Linked DNA regions of Homo sapiens: region 2 is linked to region 1. The links are contacts of gene promoters, found by promoter capture Hi-C in human tissues and cell types (Jung and others, 2019). All regions are on one chromosome and are shown on one strand. The core of a region is centred on a gene start or on the middle of the fragment in contact, and the rest is flanking DNA. Distances in the headings are between cores, read along the strand shown.

Region 1 (5,799 bases), core at 2,808-5,307:
GAGGGTTGTTTAATAATCTGGATTCTTCTATACTTTTAAACGGCCCGTTTACATTCTTATCCTTTCTTTAGATGATGACCCCATAAATATTCTTCTGATTCCAGCCCAATCTTTGTAACCCATCAACTCTTTTAGCAGACTTAACCCTTAAATGGTCTTTTGTTTACCTGTAGTTGGGTTGTGGGTACCATTGCTCCTCAAGTCTACAGCCCAGAGTGAAGCAGAAATTGTTATTCTGTACCTGCAATGGATCTAGACTCATTATTGGTAAAACCTACCTACCAAGGGAGTGTGCTCCAAAAGAGTTGGGGTAGGGTTATAGGAGCCAGGTTGTCTTCTCCATATATCACCCTACCAGACTTTGGTCACATAATTAAGTCTTTGTAGTTTATTTCTTATGGATATGGTCTTTTCAAGGCTGAAAAATTATTCACTACATCGCAATTTATAAACTGCTGTTTAGTGCATGGATAGAAAAACAGGCAAGAGCAAACTGATCTTTCAAATTAATAAATGCTTTTGCGTGATCAAATCCAAAGGCCTCTCTATAATTCTCAGTTTTTTCAACCTTTAGGTAGCATTTTACACTCCTGATCATGCCTTAATCTTGACTATCTGCTGTCTTTTCCATTCTATGACACAGTGCCACAGAGAATAGGATATTATTGGCTTGCTTTTCCAGTTTTTTTGAAAACTCTTTTAAATGGCTATTCTTCCTTCACTTTCCCCTAATTTTCATTTTCCCTTTATTTTCACATTTCGCAAGTCTCTTCCTTCATCTTTCTTCTCAGCAGACTCAAACAATCTCTCCTTTATTAATCTTATTAATGTTAATGGCAGGCATCCTATCTTCTTCCATTACTGGTGGGAACTGGGAGAAGAAACTCTTGGGACATGGCTAAACATTTGGGCTATAAAATAAGGATAACAGATGCTAATTGGAATGGTATAAGCATTTTAAATTTTAATTTTTAATTTTAAGACTAATAATTCTCCTTTAAAAAATTAAAATATAAAAGATAAAAGTCTCCATGGGCCATTATCTCCATTCTTTGTTCCCATCTCCCTCCCCTAAAGTAACCATTGCTAGTAATACAGAGCAACTTTACTTATATATTTGAATATAAATGTTATAATAGTAAGCATACCATTCTGGAATTTGTGCTTTTTATTTGTCAAAATGTTTGGATATTTTTCTGTGTTAGAATATAAAGTTCTTCCTCAGGCAATAGCATTTAAATAGTAGTAATTTTTGTGGCAAAGTATATAAATGAAATCCTGCCTAGGATACCTGGTGGAACTTGAACTTTAATGAGGATCTTTGTGCAGTTTGTCAGAGTGATTCCAAAATTGAAATCATGCTGATGGTGGTAGAAGTAGTTCCTTGGCTTTCTGATCTTTAAACATATTGAGCATTTTTGTTTTTTTTTTTTTTGGATTTTGGGGTGGCTGACTTCAACTGGGCTATATATAAATGGTTCCAGCACAACCACGTATGAATTGATGATGGTAGTGAGTATCCAACTTTCAGTCTTGAACACCTAAGGATAATAGTCGAGTAATTGAATTAAAAAGTTTTTATATGGTATCTTACCTTGTTCCTTGGTCATTGGATTTCTTCAATTATAGATTTTATTGATAAGGAATGCTCATTTACAAGTTCAACTATCATAACAGTGACTTGGATGTCTTTTCTTTAAAATCTAAGATGATAAATTAGCAATAAACGTGCTGGAAATCTTTAAGTCTAGTTACCTAATTATGGGGATTCCGAATCAAGGAGCCAACTGCTTTTGGCAAGTGGTCACACTGTCCAGTGTATCAATAGTAAAGGTGAATGTGATGTAAGGTCACAGCCAAAAGACTGTGTTCCAGGAAGTGACTCCTCACCAGACACCAAATCTTGTCCTTGCGTCTTGATTTTGGACTTCTCAGCCTCCATAACTAAGAAATAATTAATTTCTGCGGATTACCTATCCAGTTTATGGTATTCTGCTATAACAACCCAAATTAAGATATTTAGTAAATAATTTATTAGCACCTACGATGCAGCAGGAAATATGCTAAATGATTAGGGAGAGCAATAATTTTCAGAAGATTAAAAAAGCTTTCCAAAAAGACATAGCACTTGAGAAGAACTTTAAAGAAAGGGTAGAAGTTCCATGGGGGAAAGTGTGGTGGTGGGGAAGTTTAACATACTGGATACAATAAAGATCTTAATTCACAGATAAATTATAAAGTGCTTGAAGTAAGGGACTATATGTTCTCTTAATCTTTGTGTTGATCCCACTTTTGCACAGCCTCTACTTTATTCTTATAGGAAAACATGTAGCATGGCCGTCCTTAATTACCGAGTTGCAAAATAAAGCAGGTGTTATGTCCTGCCCCTGCAGAGATCCTCAAACCTTAGCATGCATCAGAATCACCTGGAGAGCTTGTTAAAACGCAGACTGCTGAGCCCTATTGCCAGTGTTTGGGATTCCCGAGGTTTGAAATAGGGGCCTGTAGGGAATGAGAAACATCTTTCTTTCCTGTTGCTAGATTCCTGTTTGAGTCCCTTATAAGAAAAGACAGATTAATAAGAGAAAAGCGTGCAAATTTATTTAAGTTTTATGTGGCATGGGAGCCTTCAGAGATGAAGCCCAAAGAAACAGGAAAACCTGTGCATTTTTAGAAGGAACAGTGGACAGTTGTGGGGAAGTACGGTTGGACAAAGCATGGTCTAATGGTAATAAACTGGGGTAAGTTGTCAAAGGTCTTTTTGTTCAGATTCTTTTCTATGTCTCCGTTTCTTTAGAGATAAGGATATTTCTTTCCTGTGGGTATAGGAAGAGCACCTCTGGATTGAGGATCCAATGACCCGCCTCAGGGAAGAAGGATGGGAGAAGGTCAGAGAGTGATCTTAGGTTTTGTTGTTTTCTCAAATGTCAAGGGGCCATATTTTGGGGTAGCATATCCTGAACCCCATCAGCGGTGAAAACTTGTATTTCTACATAGTTCCCAGGTGATGCTGTTGCTAGGTTCTAGGATCACGTTTTGAGAACCACTGCTTTAATGTAATTTATATCTAACCACTGCTCCAGCATTCTTTTCTGTAAGCATCCAGAATGCTGTGACAAATTCTTGTCAAACTTTAAGAATCTTCAGGATGTCAAATTCTGTCTTGAGGTCAATAAAGATGGGTAGGGGACGAAATAATCTTTGCTCAACCTTTGGCACATTACAATGATGTTTTTCAAATAGTAGGGCTCAAACGTGATGCATTGGAAAATTGGAAAATTGGAAAATCAAATAATCATATGGTAAATATTTTAGTAGGTTTCTTATTTAATCAACTCTTAATAAGATGGGATGGATAACATTCCTGAGTTAGAAAAACATATTGCAAGCGCTGTCAGAGGAAAATTAAGTTCAAGTCCATCAGCAATCTTTACTCATGTTTTGCTTTATATATTTGTGAGTGCCGTACACAGAACTGAGTCCAGTGTTGACTTGAGTCTAATCAATACACATATACGTATACATGTGTGTGCCTCAAATATATCTGATTGAACTTAGTAAGCCACAGAACTGTAATATATATGATATAATCAATGTGTTATACATTATATTACAATAATTATACACAAAATAATACATTATTCTGTATGTTAAGGGAGAGAGGACAACAGCAAAGAAGACAGAGTGCTACAACGTCCAGGCTGTAAAAGTCATTTTATTCTGGAGGAAATGCAACACCAAAGTTGTAACAGTCTTTCAATAAAGTAAAACAGAATCATCGAAAGGGCTCCTGGGACAATTGAGGCTAGAATGATCTTGGTCAGTCAGTCCTGTGGACTTGAGGGCAATCTTCCCTCCCACTACCGGTTGGGGAGCCCTGATGTCGCCTCCCGCAGAGCGCCACTTGGCCTGGCCTGCGCTTCACCTTCATTTCCGCCCGCGGAATCCTCCAGGATCTTCCCGCCAAGGCTGGGGTTTCCGCTCCGCGGCGTCCGAGCGCCAGCGGACTGCGCATGTGCAGGACCCAGCAGGTCTAGAGCTTTTCTGTGTTTCTCCGGACTTCGAGCCATGGCGGTGACGGAAGCGAGCCTGTTGCGCCAGTGCCCCCTGCTTCTGCCCCAGAACCGGTCGAAAACCGTGTATGAGGGATTCATCTCGGCTCAGGTACCCGCCCAGTGGTTGCTTTCTAGCTAAGAGAGCCTCTTGCAGCGTAGCTGCGCGGAGAAGTCTGTGACGGGCTAGGAGGTTAGGGGCCCAGACTTGTGGGGATTGAGAGGGGCGGCGCGTAACGGCTCTTGGGAGACTAAAGGTTTGAGAAGCGCCGCTGTCGCCGCCACCCCGGTGGTCGCCGCGCTGGATGGGGAGCGAGGAGGCGCGCGGCGTGGAGCGGGGCTGGGGCCACGCCTCCTCTCTCCCTAGCCCTTCCCCGAGTTTGGCTTCCTTCTTCGTTCAGTGTCCCGCAATTGACTGTTTTTTAATTTTTTTTTTGTAAATTTTGCCTTAACTCGATTTTAACACCCTCCACCTCCACGGATGTTGATGAGTTCACTCGGGAATCTGGGCTAATTATTTTCGTGTTTCCTGTAGAAAGAACATTTGGGAAGAAAACCTTATTTTGGCCCTTTGCCAAGTCGTATGTACCTGTACACCCACAGTTACAATATCTTCTAGGAGAAGCATGACAGCAATGGAATTAATTAACTTTGCTGATTCCAGTGGCCTCTCATATGGAGTTTATTACACATACTAACACATGTGTAGGGTTTTGAAGTTTACAAAGCGCTTTCCAGGTAAATAGTTCACTTAATCCTCAGCCCTTTGAGGCAGAAATTTTTAAAAGAATCATCATTCCCATTTTCTAGTTGAAGAAATCAAGGTATGGGAAACCGGAGACGTTATTTGCTGATGATCACATCAGAATCCCTTAAACGCAGGCTGTGTGATTTCAGTCCTGGATTTTTTTCTCTTTACATTGCACCAGGATACCTTAGGTTAGGAGTGTAGACTTTTCCTTTCTGACCATTACACTCAACCTTGTGCCCACTTCCCCACCATCACGCATAGTCTTTGAGTATATGTGGAATTACCATATGACCATCACAGAAAGTAGAGGTTAAAAATTCATTATTCCATATGGAAAAAAGTTAATCCACCTTTCCCTCTCCAATTAGAAGTATTCTTCTTGAATTACCTAGCTGAAAATATGATTCTCTTGTAGACAACATTTAGAAAAGTTGAAAAATTTTAAGTTACTTTTTTTTTTTTTTTTTTACAGGAAGCATGTTATACCTAATTTTAGGCAAAATACTGTTATGTATGTCTATATCTGCTAAGGCCTTTTAGGAAACAAGTACACCCATTAGAATTGAGATTAGATGAAAGTTTCTTTTATGACCATTGCTATAGCTAGAATTCCAATTTGTACCTGCCTTAGCAGTTTATTTAAATCTTAAACATTTTACGTGTCTAAAAATATTTTGTATATATTTTAAATTTACAGAAAAGTAGCAAGGATATACAGTACAAGTAATTCCAGTATACCCTTTACCTAGATTCACCAGTTTACATTTTCTCCATTTTACTGATCATTGTTAAGTATATGTATGTGGGTGGGTGTGTATACACATTATTTTCCTGAACCATTTGAGGTCAAATCAGGCGTAGTTCCCCTTTATCCCTAAATACTTGAGCATACATTTCATAAGAACGAGGACACACTCATACATAACCACAGTACAGTGATTAAAATCAGGATATTTAATGATATACTATTATCTAAGATAGAGTCCATATTTCAAA
Region 2 (5,902 bases), core at 1,515-4,014, 320 kb before region 1:
ATAAGAAGGTGTAAGCAGTCATTAGAAATATCAGAGTCCCTTTGCCCCTTCCCCTACAGTCAAGAATTTAAGCCAAAAACAAATGCAGCATGTTGTCCCACGGGTTCACTTATCACAATTTCACTTTTCATCTTATCTTTTGAATCCCATCAGTTAGCATAGTGCTTTAATGGAACAAATATATGACCAGAGGTTGCATGCCAATATTAGATGCTGCACAGAGGTCAAAGCTGGAAATTGAGACTCCTCAGTTCTTAGCCCAGCTCTATCATCTTGGGAGAGTCCTGTGAACATAATTAGGGCTCAAATTCCCTTCACATTAAAAGCAAAGAGGAACACTACTATGATTCCTGAGTTTCCCTAAGAAAAAAGTAAAAATAAATAACAGAGTAAGTCTGAAAATATTTCTTGAGTTAAAACACTAAATACTAGGCCTTACAGTTTGACTTGAGATGATAGTTTCTATTAACACTTTGCCATCTGTGAACCAGTAAGGTTGGCAAAGCCATCTATAATGTACATTCTATCTGACGGAGTGCATATTTCCTTTGGAATTTTCCAAGAGTATTGGAACAAAGTTGCTCATTTTTATGAAAAGTATCTGATGAAAGTCTTGTTATTTGTTTATAACAGGTTCAAAGGAATGACTTATTTCAACTTATTAGGAATTGCTTTTTATTCCATTTAAGACCATGACCACTGACAGCCACGCTGTCTAAAGACAACAGCTGAAGTTAGATCAACTGGATCCAACTCTAGAATATTGACTTGATGAAGAACTTAAATTTGCTTTTTAATTTAATTATCTAAATACTATTTCATAATGGAAGCACAACATTAAATATGTCAGATTTTACTTAGTTCCTAAGATCTGAGATAAAGGTAGTTTGCCTAAATAACCATGTGATACAAACTAGCCATAATATGAATTAACCCTAAGTTATCTTCAACAAATCCTATACAGTTATATGTTATATTTTTAAATAAGTAAACATAAGATACAGTTATAAATAAAACATAAGATACAGTTATAAATAAAAGCCTAAAACACAAACCATTTATTTAACCAAGTTTAACTCTTATGACACCAAAGTGAACGCAAAATGAAATTATCCTATTATACAAATGAGTATGTGTCATGTATTTTCAGACTGCTGCTTAACCATAATTATTTCCAGCATTTAATTTCATATACTCACTGCTTTCAAAGGCCATTGGTAGTATAGATTTCTGATAGAAGCTAGCCAAATAGCAGACCATCAAAGAAGATAGTTGGTAAAATTGAAATCTATGTTTATCTAATAATTCCTTAAGAAACTAAAAATAAAGGCAGAAGCCACGAAACAATTTCCTTTATAGTAATTAAAACTGTAAATAAACAGATAACTTTATACTCTGTAGGAACCCCTAAACATTGAGGACACTTTGAGTATTCATTTCTGTCCAGTGCTATAGGAATAAATAAGTAAATTATCCATGTATACATAAAGCTTTCAGAAGCAGTATTAGAAGTTCATTTTATGAATTACAATCAACTTTTAATTTATACCACAGGGAAAAATATCCTTTTGTTAAGTTCAGTTTTACTATTTAGATTGGGAGGACATTGCAGTGATAGTGACTTTTATCCCACTCCTAATGTTCATGACTACAGAATCTACAACATACCAAATTATAAAACCAGCTTAGAGATGACATGCCATTCCTTTCCCCAACAGAGGAAAATATTTTCTCAATGGAATCATATTTAGAAATATAAATATAAATATGCAACATTCTCTTTTCTTTCACAGCTTTACCTTGTTGGGTACGCACAATTTCCTTCTGATGAACTACTTGTATCCAGCCAAATGACAATGATCAAATTATAGAGCAAAAAAATTATGTACTCTTTGTCACATTTCTTTATTACAGAGCTAACAACTTATTTAATTCCATTAATGAATGTGGTTCAGTAATAGTTTATCATTTTCCTCTTTATTTTTTAAAACTGAGAAAAAGAGGGAGGTTCACAGAGACAACAGTGTATTAGGATTGATGTATTCTCCAGTTTTCCTCTTGAGTTTAAAATCATAAACTACTCACTACTGTGAATTCTTAGGAGCAGCCTGTCAGATCCATTGTGATAATTAATATAATGGCATACTGTACATGCCACTGGTGTTAAGGCTGTTATCTTAGTGACTGTTGTAGTTTCTGACAATGCTATTTATAACATTACTATGTTGATAATGATACTAACAAACAATGTTAAACACAAACAACACAAAGTACTTTGCACTATACATACTGCAATAAAGTGAATTTCCTGGCCAGAAGTTGATAATCTAAATTGTGAATGACACCCACAGTACTTGTCTTCAGAGTATCTAAATATTGGATATAAGTGAGGCTTTGCCAAACAAGTACTGGGAAATCAGTTTTATGTAATAGCTCTTCAGATACAAATTGGAAGCTGGAGGATTTTATGAAGATTCAAAAAAGAGAAATCTTTGTTGAGATGAGACTAGTGTGAGCTGAGAAGTTAGTGAAAAGCAAAGCAAAGATTTAGACTGTTAGAATATCAAAAAAGTATATATTTTAGCAGTAACAAAGTAATAACTGAAAAGGAACTTTATTTCCCTAAACTTAGTTTCTGAGTACAAATGCAATATATTTAATTTTAGTAAGTAGACAATACAGAATACTATAAAGAAGAAAATAAAAAAGCATATGTAACACTATCAATGGGTAGATAATTTAAATTTTCAGTTATCTATTTTGTAATAGAGAAGAATCCCAATTAGATAAACACTTTAAGTACTTTTCAAACATTGCATCACAACCCATTGATGGAAGGTACATCAGTTTGGGGGTTTATGATCAGCATCCTTTATTACAATACAGTGGGAGATTGTATAGTATGATGGAAGTTTTTCATAAAACTTTTATTCATATTCGCAGGTTTACGGTCATTATGTAAAACATAATTCTAAGTGTGGGTTGCAGACAAGACACTGAAATTAACTGCTAAAAGACTTCGATTTTCATGACTTTAGTTGATTTATTTGAAAAGGAGAAAGGTGCCAGGCATGGTGGCTCAGACCTGTAATTCCAGCACTTTGGAAGGCCAAGATGAGAGGATGGCATGAACCCAGGAGTTCAAGGCCAGCCTCAGCAACATAGCAAGATGCCATCTCCACAAAAATTTAAAATATTAGCTAGGCATGGTGGCATATGCCTGTACTCCCAGCTACTTGGAAGGCTGAGGTGGGTGGATCACTTGCAGCCAGGAGGTTGAGGCAGCAGTGAGCCATGATCACAACACCGCACTCCAGCTTGGGTGACAAAGCGAGACTGTCTCAAAAATAAATAAATAAGTAAAAAAAGGAAGGAATTTCTATAGCATTCTAATAATGAGACATCTTTTGTAATAAACTTAATCTTGATAAGAAACATCTTTAAGCCAGGCATGGTGACTCAAGCCTGTAATCCCAGCACTTTGTGAGGCTGAGGTAGGCAGATCACCTGAGGTCAAGAGTTCAAGACCAGCCTGGCCAACATGGTGAAAACCTGTCTCTACTAAAAATACAAAAAATTAGCTGGGCATGGTGGCTGGCACCTGTAACCCCAGCTACTTGGGAGGCTGAGGCAGAAGAATCGCTTGAAAGCGGGAGGGGGAGTTTGCAGTGAGTCAAGATCGCGCCACTGCACTCCAGCCTGGGCAACAACAGCAAAACTCCGTCTCAAAAAAAAAAAAAAAAAAGAAATATTTTTAAAATACTGTTTTATTGTGAAACTGGTGAAGATATTAATTGCCTTTCCTTGGTTGCATTCATATATGCTGGATGTCACTGTCATTGAGCTGTTATTTACCTTAGGAGCTCACAAACTAAATATTAATCAAATAACCACACAAATATTTGTAAAGTTTCAGCTGTGATAAATTCCATGGTACTCAGAGGGCCCCAAAAGATAGTATAATCTAATTTAACATAAAAGAGAGTTCAGGGAAGACTGCCCTAGAAAAATAAGATCACTGCATTTTGAAGGATGAGTATGAAGTGAAAAGGAGAGAAGAAAACATTCCAGACAGAGAGGATAGCATATTCAAATGTCTGATCACCACAGGGGTCTCAAGGTGTACAAGGCCAAATGATATTCTACTTCAGATAGTGACCTGCTCTCAAGGAGATTATTACAGATCCTCAGTGACCAGTGGGGAGAGACACTGTCTTTCCTCGATGACAACAAAAAAGGAGCCCAACTCCTTACAAAAGCTTCTCTGCTTGAAATATAAACATGGTGGGTGTTTTAGTTTGTTTTTTATTGCTATCATAGAATACCACAGGCTGGGTAAATTATTTTTAAAAACGGAAATTTATTTATCACTGTTCTGGAGGCTGGTAAGTCCGAGATCAAGGTACTGGGTGTTCACATGAAGAAGAGCAAAAGAGAGTGAACCCACTCCCTCAAACCCTTTTCATAGTAGAATTAATCTATTCATGAGGGCAAAGCCCTCCTGATCTAAACACTTCCCATTAGTTTCCACCTCCCAACACTGTTGCATTTGGAATTAACACACAAATTTTGAGAGACACATCCAAACCATGCAGTGGGTTAGGTGATCTTTTATGTAGACTTCCAATTCTGTTATTTCTTTGTTTATTTTTAAATATATTGATAGTTCCCTTGTAAGTCAGGAAGCTGAAAAGCCTAAAATGTAAATGGACACCTTGAGGGTCAATGTTTGTCTTTATATACAAGTGAATATGCATATACCCCTAAGAGTAATTTCTTCATAAACCACCAATACACCCATTATAACAATAATAGCCCATTAATGCCTCTGCTTAGAGGGAAAAGAACTAAAAAACTTTAAATATATCTAGTATATACTGGCAAGCACATAAATACACACTGAGCAGCTATCATTCTGAATTTGAAAACCTGTGGGGTGAAGGCATATTTTGAGCTCTTGATTCCTTCAACTCTAAAATAATTTTATCAGGTTGTTAGGTATTCAGCATTAGGAAACTTTAACTTAAAGAAAGCTAAAGTTTCTAAAAAGGAAATACATTTAATTTAAGCAGAGAGTTCTGAAAAGCTCAATCTCTAAAGCACTTTTGCACCAACCTAATATTAATATATAAGAGTAGGAAAAAAGAAATAAAAAATGTGAGGTAGGTAAATTTTATCTTTAGAACCATATTATAATACTTTCTCAGAGCCATGTTAGTAGGTAATTCTCTCTCTGGTGCTGACTAACAAAAATTCATTTGTCTTTTAAAGCGTTGTTCTACATTTTATCTGCAGATCCAATTATTCATTTATTCTTTCATTCATTTAACTAACAACACTAGAAACATATAATTATGATTAAAAGTGTTTGTTGTATGATCTAGATATGAAAGAAACCCCTCTAATCCATTTCTTACATAGCAACAGGTATGATTTTGTGAATCTTAATTATGACATTGCCCTGCTTCAATGGTATTCCTCTGCATTTTATTTTATTTTATTTTGAGACACAGTCTTAACTCTGTTGTGAGGTTGGAGTGCAGTGTCACAATCTCGGCTCACTGCAACCTCTGCTTCCTGGGTACAAGAGATTCTCGTGCCTCAGCCTCCCAAGTAGTGGGGATTACAGGTGCCTGCAACCATGCCTGACTAAGTTTTGTATTTTTAGTAGAGATGGGGTTTCATCATGTTGGCCAGGCTGGTCTTGAACTCCTGAGCTCAGGTGATCTGCTCACCTCAGCCTCCCAGAGTGCTGGGATTACAGGCATGAGCCACTGTGCCAGGCCGACCTGCATTTTAGATAAAAATCTAAATCCGTATCATGTCTTCCAAAGCTCTATAAAAATCTGGTCCTTGCCTATTTTCTAGCCTCATCACACCATCCTCAATTACTATGCTCTGG

Evidence for each region. The method cuts DNA at HindIII sites, captures the fragments that hold promoters and counts their contacts. A contact is called where the count stands out against the background at its distance.
Region 2: a contact is called between a fragment that was not itself captured here and the fragment with the promoter of FANCL in region 1, in 1 of the 25 tissues and cell types used here (mesendoderm cells).

What each region holds. Positions count from the first base shown.
Region 1 is chr2:58,239,583-58,245,381 of GRCh38, reverse strand. FANCL (FA complementation group L) reads left to right here and starts at 4,057. Exons shown (of 14, transcript NM_018062.4): 1 at 4,057-4,164. The coding sequence starts at 4,069. RefSeq lists an enhancer at 3,710-3,869 and a silencer at 4,410-4,459. The HindIII fragment of the contact is 14,155 bases long and covers 945-5,799 here.
Region 2 is chr2:58,563,180-58,569,081 of GRCh38, reverse strand. All of the region lies in intron 1 of LINC01122 (long intergenic non-protein coding RNA 1122), which reads right to left. Among named protein-coding and RNA genes, the nearest start is that of LINC01122, 45 kb to the right of the region's middle. The HindIII fragment of the contact is 5,805 bases long and covers 1-5,666 here.